Linked DNA regions of Homo sapiens: region 2 is linked to region 1. The links are contacts of gene promoters, found by promoter capture Hi-C in human tissues and cell types (Jung and others, 2019). All regions are on one chromosome and are shown on one strand. The core of a region is centred on a gene start or on the middle of the fragment in contact, and the rest is flanking DNA. Distances in the headings are between cores, read along the strand shown. Region 1 holds the start of GHRH (growth hormone releasing hormone). Region 2 overlaps BPI (bactericidal permeability increasing protein).

What was found. The method cuts DNA at HindIII sites, captures the fragments that hold promoters and counts their contacts. A contact is called where the count stands out against the background at its distance.
Region 2: a fragment that was not itself captured here is called in contact with the fragment with the promoter of GHRH in region 1 in 3 of the 25 tissues and cell types used here (H1 embryonic stem cells, IMR-90 fibroblasts and mesenchymal stem cells).

The regions. Positions count from the first base shown.
Region 1 is chr20:37,259,261-37,265,075 of GRCh38, reverse strand. GHRH (growth hormone releasing hormone) reads left to right here and starts at 3,262. Exons shown (of 5, transcript NM_021081.6): 1 at 3,262-3,333. The HindIII fragment of the contact is 8,848 bases long and covers 1-5,456 here.
Region 2 is chr20:38,329,839-38,336,446 of GRCh38, reverse strand. BPI (bactericidal permeability increasing protein) reads right to left here. Exons shown (of 15, transcript NM_001725.3): 12 at 5,357-5,399; 13 at 1,954-2,017; 14 at 773-849. Among named protein-coding and RNA genes, the nearest start is that of LBP, 13 kb to the left of the region's middle. RefSeq lists an enhancer at 913-2,112. The HindIII fragment of the contact is 5,423 bases long and covers 173-5,595 here.

The DNA.
Region 1 (5,815 bases), core at 2,013-4,512:
CCCATGGCTTCTCCGGCCAACTCCATGTAACCTGCATCTGTGCCCTGGACCAGCGTCCACTCTGGGTGCCCAGCTCTGCATGGTCCCCACTTTGCATTTCCAGGAGTTACCCCACACTTCCTGACTGTGCGAGAGCCCATAGCCCTGGGGCTCCCAACTGCTTCGTCTGCTCCCTGCTGCTGTGACCTGCACTTTTTTTTTTTAAATAATATTTGAGTTCTGGCCAGGACAACATAGTGAGATCTCATCTCTACTAAAAATAAACAAAATTAGCTGGGCATGGTGGCGTGCAACTGCAGTCCCAGCTACTCAGGAGGCTGAGGTTGGGGACTGCTTGAGCCTAGGAGGTCAAGGCTGCAGTGAGCTGAGATCTCACCACTACACTCTAGCCTGAGCGAGACCCTGTCTCCAAAAAATTAAGTAAATAAAATAATAATAATAATAATTAATTTAAAGCTATCAACCCATTTATTTTTATTTTTATTTTTATTTATTTATTTATTTTATTTATTTTTTTGAGACGGAGTCTCACTCTGTCACCCAGGCTGGAGTGCAGTGGCACCATCTTGGTTCACTGCAAGCTCCGCCTCCTGGGTCCTGAGCCATTCTTCTGCCTCAGCCTCCCGAGTAGCTGGGACCACAGGCACCCACCACCACGCCCGGCTAATTTTTTGTATTTTTAATAGAGACGGGATTTCACCATGTTAGCCAGAATGATCTCGATCTCCTGACCTCGTGAGCCGCCCGCCTCAGCCTCCCAAGGTGCTGGGATTACAGACGTGAACCACCACGCCCTGTTTTTATTTATTTTTTTTTTTGAGACAGAGTCTCACTCTGTTGTTCAAGCTGAAGTGCAGCGGCGCCATCTCGGCTCACACCAACCTCTGCCTCTGGGGCTTAAGCTATTCTTGTGCCTCAGCCTCCCCAGTAGCTGGGATTACAGGCACATGCCACTACACCCAGCTAATTTTTTTGTATTTTAGTAGAGACGGGGTTTCACCATGTTGCCCAGAGTGGTCACGAACTCCTGAGCTCAGGCAGTCCGCCTGCCTCGGCCTCCCAAAGTGCTGGGGTTACAGGCATGAGCCACCGCACCTGGCCACTATCAGCCCATTCTTAATCCTTGGGGATCTGGCCTGACCTGACCACTTCGTATCCTGGCCAGCAAGGTGACATACCACTCAAGCCTTGCTTCTATGAGAAACATCTCATATTTGCTAGATGCCAAGAACATGGCTCAGTGCAGGCTAAGAAGGAGAACCACAAAATAGTGTTGCTAAGGGGACTCTTGGAAATTACTGGCTTGTAATTGTGACCCATCGAGGTACCTCAGGGATAGGCAAGGGGGTCTCCACTTCCCCCTCTTCAACCAGAGTAGCCCCATATTAAAAACCTGTCTCTGTAGGTTTCCAAAGAAAGAGTTTTGCTACTTTTTAAAAAATGTTTGGGCTGGGTGTGGTGGCTCACACCTGTCATCCCAGTGCTTTGGGAGGCAGAAGCACGTGGATCACCTGAGGTCAGAAGTTTGAGACCAACCTGGCCAACATGGTGAAATCCCATCTCTACTAAAATACAAAACTTAGCCAGGCGTGGTGGTACGCACCTGTAATCCCAGCTACTCTGGAGGCTAAGGCAGGAGAATCATTTGAACCCGGGAGGTGGAGGTTGCAATGAGTCGAGATTATGCCACTGCACTCCAACCTGGGTGGCAAAGATAGGATCCCTCTCAAAAAAATAGTTTGAAAGTTGCTGTTCTATGTCAACTCTCAAGTTTCCAGGTAGAAACTGAGGCCCGGAGGGTAGAAGTTTTTTTTCTTTTTTTGAGACAGAGTCTCGCTCTGTCGCCCAGGCTGGAGTGCAGTGGCACGATCTCGGCTCACTGCAACCTCCACCTCCCGGGTTCAAGCAATTCTCCTGCCTCAGCCTCCTGAGTAGCTGGGATTACAGGTGCCCACTACCACACCCAGCTAATTTTTGTATTTTTAGTAGAGACGGGGTTTCACCATGTTGGTCAGGCTGGTCTCGAACCCCTGACCTCATGATCCACCCGCCTCAGCCTCCCAAAGTGCTGGGATTACAGGTGTGAGCCACTGCACCCAGCCAGGTAGAAGTAACTTCCTAAGGGTCACAGAGGTCATGATTGACAGGCTTGGGAGAGGCAGCAGGTCCCTAGACTCGAGGCTTGGAGCTCTTTCCACACCTCCACGACGGCCGCCTGGGAAACCAGAGCTTCTGCCTCCTGTGCTTTTATGTCATTCCTGAGGATTTCTTAGCTATAGGCTAGAGAAATCTGGAAACACAACAACTCTCCCAAGGTTTTCCATCTCTTCCCTCTCATTTCACACTTCTCTGAGGCAACTGCCAATGTCTGGCTGCCTTGACAGGTGACGACGGATGCCCCCAGGCTAGCTGTTGAAATCAGCCTGTGACCAAGCAGGTGTAAATCAAATAGTGCAGAATTCTGATAATTGGACGACAAGGGAGATAGGGAACAAATTCCCCACTAAGGAGAGAATAACGCTTATTCATAATGTTGTCTACCCAAAAGTGAAATAAAATTACACAGGGACAAAGCTAAATTATATGAACTTTTGAAAAGGCACATTTATCTTGGAGAATCAATAAACTCTTGGTGTTTCACTGTTATGAGTTCTCCAATTATTTTTAACACATATTTTTTCTTTTTTTAAAAAATATATATTTTGAGATAGAGTCGTGCTCTGTCACCCAGGCTGGAGTGCCATAGCGTGGTCTTGGCTCACTGCAACCTCCGCCTCCCAGGCTCAGGTGACACTCTTGCCTCAGCCACCTGAGTAGCTGGGACTATACCCATGTGCCAACATGCCCAGCTAATTTTTAATTTTTTTCTAGAGACAGGGTCTCATTATGTTGCCCAGGTTGGTCTCAAACTTCTGAGCTCAGGCAATCCACCCGCCTCAGCCTCCCAAAGTGCTAGGATGGCAGGTGTGAGCCACCGCGCCCAGCCGAGTTCTCCAATCACTATTATAGCAGTATATATTCTCTATATCCTCTTGGAATAATGTTACACCTTTGTACTATGTCCACTGTGCCAAAGATAAAAGGAGACTTTACCAGGAGTCTAAGTCTGCAAGGGGCCAAACCTCTTTCACCAACAGGGTTTGTCAGTGTGATATGATGCTAAAAACAGTCCTTTGGTTGACTTGTGGGTAATTGATTCTCTGACGCTGACAACGCTTAGGAAAATGAAGAGATAAATGATGGGAACGCCAGGCGGCTGCCAGAGCAAACACCCAGCCCAGGGCCCCTGGATTTGAGCAGTGCCTCGGAGCAGAGGGATATCTGCCGCATCAGGTGAGAGGGGTGGCCCTGGGGGGGCTAGGCTGGGTGGGGGTAAGAAAAGTTAACCTTCTCACCAACTTAGAAACACTGAGTCCAAGAGGCCCACCGCCATCCTCTTTGCCCATGGACTGGTGAGTACATTTGAGCCCCTCTCTGGATAAAATCACCCCTCAATAGGGGCTCTGGAATAGGCTTTTGATGGTGCTGTTTGGGGCTTGTCTTAACTTGGGCGCGTGGCGGACTGGCTCCAGGTGTCTGTCGCAGGTGGTGAGGTCTCAGTGCTCCTTCGAGGATGCGTGGGCAGGCTTCGGGGGCAAACGTGAGTTGGCTCGATTTTCCTGTCAGCGATGGGATTCTGCCATGGATCAGAGATGAGCCAAGTGGCTGTGCAAATCAATACTGCTCATTGATCACTCAGAACTGATTCAATGTAATTGCCGGGAAATTGATAACATTTTGCTTTCTTGCTCAATTGCAGCCACACTCTTTACTCCAGGTTTTAGACACAATTATCTGCCTTTGGAGTCCTCCGCTACCCCACGCCTGTCTCCTGATCCTTGCTTTAATGGTCCTGAAGTATTTGTGTCTTTCACCATAGACTGCCTCAAACCCCTTCTGGAAGGAGGTGGAGTGTCACTCTTTTGAATGACAGTTCAAGATGCTTCCTCATTAAAAACTTAGATTTCTTTTAACTTGGAATGCTGTCACTGAAACAGTTTATAAACCAGATCAGGAAGTCTATGCTTTGGGGTGCTCAAATTTCAAAGGGGGATATTCAAGGAAGGTTAAAGATGTTCTTTCCCTGGGTTTTCAAAAATGGCCTTGCGAATTTGGGTGCTTGAGACCTGACCTCTGTCAGCTGCAGGTGAATCTGCAGAATTCTCCTGGCATTCCTGGCATGAAAGCTGGCAAAAGGTGCCAACGGATGTAGATCAAGTGCCCGTTTATCCTGAATCCAGGCAATCTCAAGTACATCTAATCCCAGAATCAGTAAGCACTGCAGGAAGCTAACCGATGATCATAATGATAGATTATAAACTCTGGAGTGCCTTCAGTCATCAGGGTTGCCAGCAATGCTGTTGGGCTCGGCTACACTTCATTCAGTGAATTTTGACTCCTTAAGTTGTCATGTGGAATGTGTCTGTTGACAGCTATTTTATTTTATTCTTTGAGATGGGGTCTTGCTCTGACATTTAGGCTACTGTGCAGTGGCACTATCATGGATCACTGCAGCCTTAACCTCCCGGGCTCAAGCAATCCTCCCACATCAGCCTCCAGAGTAGCTGGGACTACAGGCATGCGCCACCATGCCTAGATAAGTTTTTTTTTGTTTTGTTTTGTGTGTTTTTTTTTTTGTAGAGATGGGGTCTCGCCATGTTGCTCAGGCTGGAGCTATTTTATCCTTAGTGACATAACCTCTATTCTTCTTATCTTACCCTACACTGGATAATTCTTGTTTCCCATTTTCATCCAGTGGGATCTGCAAACCCATGGATTCGGTTCTCATAGCTCAGAGGTTGCTGTGGGGTCTTGACCTATGCCTGGGGCACAGGATTTGTGGCAAATGTTGAGCCTCTTGGTTAACTTGTGCAGTTGCTGAGCCTTATCTTGAATGAGCGGGGTATTGTGTTTACTATGACTTGCCCTCCCCACCAAAGTCTGCCCTCCTATGAGGTTGTTTCAACTCCCTGAAACTACTGGGTGTGCATAGGGAGGGGCCAATCAAGCAGGTGTTCCTGTTTGTCCCTGTTCTTTCTTCCCCAGAGGCCCAACAACAAAGAGCAAGAAGCTTTCCTTTTTTTCAGACCCTTTCCCACGTGCAGGTGATGGAGGCTGAGGATCCCTGTGAATGGGGAATACTGTGAATAGAGCATTGTACCTGGGAGGCTGCTGCATGGAGCGGAAGGAAGTCTGCCGGCCTGGGAATGAGGAGGCCCACTCTGAAGTGCCCACTCCAAAACTAATTTGATGGAGGATCATGGAAAATGTCCTTGTCCTCTCTAGGCTCTTTTCCTTGGCTGTAAGAGGAGCATGGGGATGCCTGCTCCAGAGGGAGAGTGCAAGGATGGGTTGTGGAGCCTGATAGGGCACAGGGGCTGGGAATCACTTGTGCCAGCCCTTGGGAGAAGGGGCAGGCAGAGGGAGAGCTTAAGCCAAGAGAAGGGGTTTGAGCTTTATTCTGGAAGGAGTGGGGAGCCAAGGGCTTCTGAGCAGGGGAGGGAGGTGATTGGGGACCTAGATCTGCCTGAATCTTTAAAAGATCAGCAGCAAAGAAGGCAAGAAAGCCAGGCTGCAGCTGGGAGACAGAAAAGGCAGTGGTTTCTGTCAAGGGGCCCTGCTTGCATCCAGAGATCTCTCGGCTTAGGAAATTCCACTTCTGGAGAGGCAGCCTGGACCAGGTGGGGAGAAGGGGGACCAGACGTGGTATGGTGCGATGAGGAGGACGGAAGCCTGCCGAGCCTTGGTCTGAGGAACAAAAGCTTAAGTCAGACAT
Region 2 (6,608 bases), core at 1,635-4,134, 1.1 Mb before region 1:
CTCAGGGTGGAGACATTGAGGGAGCCTGCGAATGCACAAGCTGAGAGTTTGGAAAAAATAAAAAGACTGGAAGCATGTCTGGGACATTGGGTGGCACGCAGGTGGCAGCTAAGCCTGAAGAGGTTGACAAGAGTGACGAAGGCTTGCCAATGGCGGGGGAAGAGAAGAGGCCTGGGGAGGGGTCCTGGAGATCTCCAGCTTGCAGAGAAGGGGCAGGAGAACAAGCAGAGGAGGTGGCAGGTAGACAACCAAGAGCTAGGGGAGTGCTGGAAACTAAGAGAAGAAAGCATGCCCAGGAAGCGCATCAGTGTCAAATGCAGACGGAAGTCAGCCTGGGCGAAAGCCACGAAGGAGACTTCTGTGCTGTGTCTAAATCTGCCAGACGTCGACCACATGTTATACCCCACAGTGCCTAGTATGATGCTGGGTGCAAAAGGTGTGCAACATATATTCGTTAAATATTTAAATGCACCTTAAAAAAGAGGCTCTTTGGCCCACAAATGCATTTCATTTTTGCCGAGTGTAGCGTGGGAACGATGCAGTGATGGTTCAAAGCCGGGAGCCTGGCTTTGAATCTGGACTTCATTTAACACTGTGTGGCTTTTCTGAACCTTGGTCTTTCTTTGTTTTTTAACAGCACCCACATCCCAGAGTTGTTGTAAGGGTAGAAGGCGCTTCACACAGGGCTTGGCATGCAGGAAGCATTGCAGCCATAGGCTGCTGTTGGTCACTATCGTTAGGGGAGATTTGTGGAAAAGACTCCGGGACTCACCTGGTGAGGCTGAAGCACTACGTTGTAGAGCTGGACTCTGGCCGGCGTCGGGAGAGGGAAGCCTTTCTGTAGTTTCTCTGTGACAGAGACCGATGGTGAGGACCAGGAGAAAAGAAAGAGAAGGGCAGGGGAGGAGGGAGGGCCAGAGAGCCTGGGTAGACAGCCTCCCTGAACCAGCATGCCTGGCCCTAGGTAGGGACTGGCATGGGCATACATGCCTGAAAGGAAGGCTGCCCCAGAGTCCGTACCTCCCACCTGTTGTCCATCAACCCCAAGTCCACTTCTAGCACCTGCGTGGACTCCATCCCCATGATGGCCCTCCTGAGGGTGCAGCACTGCTGGTATACACTAAACCAAAAATCTGCTGCTTGCAATGGTGTGACTAGAGCGTGGTGTGTAATAGGGGTATTTATGCATGTGAGCATGAAACCCCTCAACATTTAGGATAAAGCCAGAGGTGGACAGTGGCCAGGGCAAGCCCCCCACATACTGCCACATTCTGACACGGAACTTTGGAGAACTCTAAATTAGAACGTGGCCTCCCAGGTCATTACAAAGCTACATTTGTCAAGGTAGGAGGACAGATCCCAGGACTGATGTATCATATTTCATATGATAATTTGTTGGATTAATTGGTAAGTTCTAAATATCCTAGTCACAGGTTATATGGGCCTCTATTAGTACTTTTGCCCCTCACTCTCAAAGGTCAGGGGCCGGCCTGCCTGAAGCTCTTACCAGCGTGGTGATCTAAGCTCTGGGAGGGGTTATCAGGGAACCCCCTCATCCTGCTTCCAAAGTTGGAAAGAGACCATGGGCTTTGTTTTCACTGCTAGGATCAAACCCATGCCCCATCTCTTGCCTGCTCTGTGACCTAAGTCACTAAACCATTCTGTTCTTCCGCTTCCTGCCATAAAAGTTGGAGATGTTAATAATCCTTCATCTCATGGGGGTTTTGTAAGGACAAACTCACGCAATAATGAATCAACCCATGTGTAGTAAGTCAACTCATGTGAGTTCCTTTTTGTTGCATTCATTTCTGGGTCAGATGCCATTTGAAGTTCACTTGACATCACCACTGCCCAGCCCTCATACCTGGGGCCAGGTAACAGGTGGCTGTGGGTAATCAACCCCACCCTCTTCCCCCATGACTGAAAATGAATGGTTTCTTCAAAGTTCCTTACCGTTAACCCTGGGCAGCACAAGAATGGGTACAATGTAGTTCATGATATCCTGCAGCAATTCAACCTGGAAATCAGAGGGAGGATGGGAGGATGGCCCTGCATCGCCAGAACCTTGCGGGTCCAGCAGTCCTCATCACCCCACCTCTGTCACCCTCCTTTCCCCTAGCGCTGCTCAGCAACCGCGCAGTTGGGAAAACTGCTGAGAGGTGGACGCAAGTGATATGTGAATACTTGGCAGCCCAATCAAGGTCATGGAAGTGGTTTCTTTTGCTCCAATGGTTCCAGATGTAAAGCATGTTCTCAATTGTAAGGTGCAAGGCCTTACAACTCACGACAATCATGAGGAAGCTCATCAGAGAGTATTTAAATGGGAAAAGCTTAGCTTAAAAAATGAGTCCTCTCAGACACTGCAGTAAGAGGGCAAATCAAATCAACCTCTTTGACGGCTATTTGGCACAATGTTCTTCCAAAGCCTGTGTGTGCCTGGTTGGGCTTGGTGGTTCATGACTGTAACAGCAGTGCTTTGGGAGGCTGAGGCGAGAAGATCACTTGAGACCAGGAGGAGTTCAAGACCAGCCTGGGCAACACAGCAAGACCCGTGTGCCTTTTGGGCTAGCAAACATGCCTCTGAGGAATTTATCCTAAGGAAATAATGTAGGGTGTAGGAAAAAATGTGGATGCAAGAATGTTGACCAAAGCAACAAATTTATCCAAAACAATAAATTAAAAGCAATCTCCATGTCCAACAATAGGGGAATCACTTGGTGGAAAATGGTAATACTTTAATACAAGGAAATATTATGCAACTGTTAAGAATGATATTGTAGAAATGTAAGTAACAACACAGACATAACCATGATATGTTTTTGAGTGAGGAGAACCAGGCTATAGAAATCACATCATTCCATTTTTTAATTAAATAGGCATAGCAAAAGGTCAGGAAGGATATACTCCAAATTATTAACTAAGTGATGAAAATATGCATGGTTTTTATTTTCTTTCTTTTGCAAATCTGTAGGTTCTGATTGCCCTATAGTGCATATATTTTTCTTTGGCAATAATAAAAAAAATTAAAAATAGTGTAAAACCCTCAAGATGCTTGCCTGTAGTTGTGACATTTACAATTTGTAAATATATACATTTTTGTTTCTGGAACAACTGAGTCTCTTTTCCTGGCCTGTTATTCCCTGGCCTCACCAAATGCAGTGCCCTCCTTCCTATGAATCCTGGGAACTTAAAATTTCTAGTTTCTACAGAAGTAGAAATTAGTTATGGACTTAGTCAAGCCACCAAGAAAGCCTTGGAACCAGTAAGTCCATGAAAATACAGTGAGGTTGCATTTGGTCCTTTCATTTGGAATCTCATTTGGTAGAAATGGCTGGCTGGATTTTTATCAGATTTGAAGGGGACACTGGGACGGTATGACTTTGGGGTTGGAGGGCTTACAAGGCACTCACTTGGTGGGGAACTTGGGGGCATCTCGGGAATCTAAGGAAATGTTCTCCAGAGCAGCAGAAACTGGGATTCAACCAGAGCCCACCAGGAGATTCAGGTCAATGTAGCAAGACGCTGGACAGGATCAGCAGACTGCAGCTTCTGACGTTAGACACAGGGCAGGTGCTCTGTGTGGCTGGTGTTGAACAGCATGGGCGACTACTTACTACTAACAGGGGCAACTCGTCATCAATGCCCCTCGTGAGGGCAGTAGCGGCAAATCTACTTAATGATGAGCAGTGATTCCTGGGCAGGCGAACCACCTACTTGAGCTGGGTTTCTCCCTGCTCTTCCCTCTCCTACCAGCCCTTTCTCCATGTCAGTACGTAGCTCTGCCATTCATCCAACTGCTCCACCCAAAACCCTAGAAGTCACCTGGACAATCCTTTCCCTCACCACACAGCCATGAGGGAGGCTTCTGTGCTGTGTCTAAATCTGCCAGACATTGACCACATGTTATACCCCACTGTGCCTAGTATGGTGCTGGGTGCAAAAGAAGGTGTGCAAAATATTCATTAAATATTTAAATGCACTTTATAAAAGAGGCTCATATCTCTCACTAAGGTCTCTCTAAATCTACTTCCAAAATATATCTCCAATCCACCATCTTTCTCTTCTGCCTGGCTGAGTCCCAACCTCCAGCATCTCACGTGGACAAACACACCAGCCTCCTCAATGACCCCTTGTCTGTAATCTATCCCCCCACCCCAGCCAGGGGAAGCTTTTACAAAGGTATAAATAGACTCACAGCACTCCCTGCAGGGAAACAGCGCACCGGCTTCTCACTGCCTGTGCAACACAACAATCTCCCCTCCTCTAGCTCAGCCCGGAAGACCCTGGATGAGCTAGCCTGTGCTTGCCCCTCTGGCCACATCTCTTCCGATGCCCCCTACTTGCTCTGCTCCAGACACACAGGCTCCCTTCATTCCCCAAACGCACCAAGCTTGTCTCTACCACAGGGCTTTTGCCCCTGCTGTTTCCTCTGCTGGCTCCTTCTCCTCCTTCAGTCCAAACGTCACCTCCTCGGAGAGGCCCTCCCTGATCACATCTTCTGACTCTTCATTCTCCCTCATCACTTTCCGCCCATCCCCGCTTTGGTTTTTATAGCTTTGATTGTGACTGAAACGATCTTCTCTCTCTTTTTTTTTTTTTTTTTGAGACAAGATTTCACTCTGTCACACAGGCTGGAGTGCAGTGTAGCATGATCTTAGCTTGTGTAACCTGGAACTCCCGGGCTGAAGCCATCCTCCTGCCTCAGACTCCCAGGTATCTGGGACTACATGTGCATGCCACCACACCCACCTAATTTTTATTTTTTATAAGAGATGAGGTCTTGCTATGTTGCCCAGGCTGGTCTTGAAGTCCTAACCTCAAGCAGTCCTCCTGCTTCAGCCTCCCAAAGTGCTGGGATTATGGACATGAGCCACCATGCCTGGCCTTTCATTTCTTATTGTGCTGTCTTCCCACTGCCATGTAAGGCTCTGAGAAGGCATCACTTCCCTGTCTGATGCATCAGCCTACCCCATACTTGGAAGAGTACTTGGCACATAATAGGTGCTCAATAAAGTAATTCATTTGTTCATCCAACAAACATTTGTTGAGCAGATTTTCTCTACCAGATTGTGCATGTTTAATCCCATTTAAACCATACTACACTCACTCAGGTGGGGAAGGTCTGGAGTTCAGAAAAGGGAAGTGACTTGCCCAAGGCCTCACAGTTAGTAAGTATGGAGCAGGGATTCTGGCTCAGGTCCCTCTGCCCACGAAGCTCCTTGAACTATTAATTCACAACCAAATTAAATGCAAATGAGCCAGTAGCCTCTTAAATAATGCCTTGAGCCTATGACATGTCCCCCTCCCCGCCGCCAGGTCAGAAGGAGGAAGAAGCCACCAAGGGCCTCAGACTCACCGGGAAGGGGCCAATATTTGAGTGCTTCAGTTCCAGGAGCAGCCTGTGAGAGGGGGAGGAGGGGACTGAGACCACCAATTGCCTGACTAGCATGAGAACCCAGTCTCTAGAGAGGAGAGACCCACTCTGGTGGATACTGTCTGGTTTTCCCACCCAGTATCCACTCCCCTTCCACGGGTCACAGCCCCCCGATGTTGCCTTTGGAGAATTCACACATTCCCTGCATTGTTAGTGCCGTTGACCCCACACTGAGCTCTGGGCCATGCTGACCAAAGGGCATAGTCCACTTCTTCTGCTACAGTCATTGCTGCAAGGATGTACCTCTGACCTATGCTGGCCCAATGAAAGTCAGTCCCAGGACTTCTGCTGGGAATATTGGGAATAAGGTATTCTCTTTTCTCTGGGAAAATAAGGAAGCTCCTGGTGACTATTTTGCCACCACTTGGTGACAGCCTGCTGGGCAATGAAGCCAGCACAGAGGATAGCAAAGCCAAGAGATGGAGACAGATTCCTAAGGATATCATTTGAGCACCTGGGTCTTTCCTTGACTGAAAGCCTTGGATTTTTCAGTTACCTGAGCCAATATACTATTTTCCCTTTAAGGCCTTTATGACATTTTTAACAGTGATCTCAGAGGAAGGGGGGAACATATGGCTGTTTATTGAACCCCAACCATTCATTAGCTGTATTGGGCGCTCTATCCCACTGAATACCAGTAACATTACAAGAGGCAAGGGCCATTACTCTCATTTTTACAGATGAGGAAACATACTCAGAGATCAAACAATGGTCCAAGGTCACACAGCTAACAATTAGCAAAGCACGGTTTGCTTTTTTTTTTCTTCTTTGAGATGGGGTCTCACTAGCTCAGGCTAGAGTGTAGTCACAGCTGCACTACACAGCAAAATCACAGCTCACTGCAACCTCAACCTCCCTGGGCTCAGGTGATCCTCCCACCTCAGCCTCCCAGGTAGCTGGGATTACAGGGGTATGCCACCAAGCTCAGCTAATTTTTAAAAATTTTGTTGTAGAGACAGGGTCTCACTATGTTGCCCAGGCTATAATAAAGCAGAGTTTTGGCCAGGCACGGTGAATCATGCCTGTAATCCCAGCACTTTTGGGAGGCTGAGGCAGGCAGATCACTTGAAGTCAGGAGTTCAAGACTAGCCTGGCCAACATGGGAAACCATGTCTCTACTAAAAATACAAAAATTAGCCAGGTGTGGTGGTGCGCACCTGTAGTCCCAGCTACA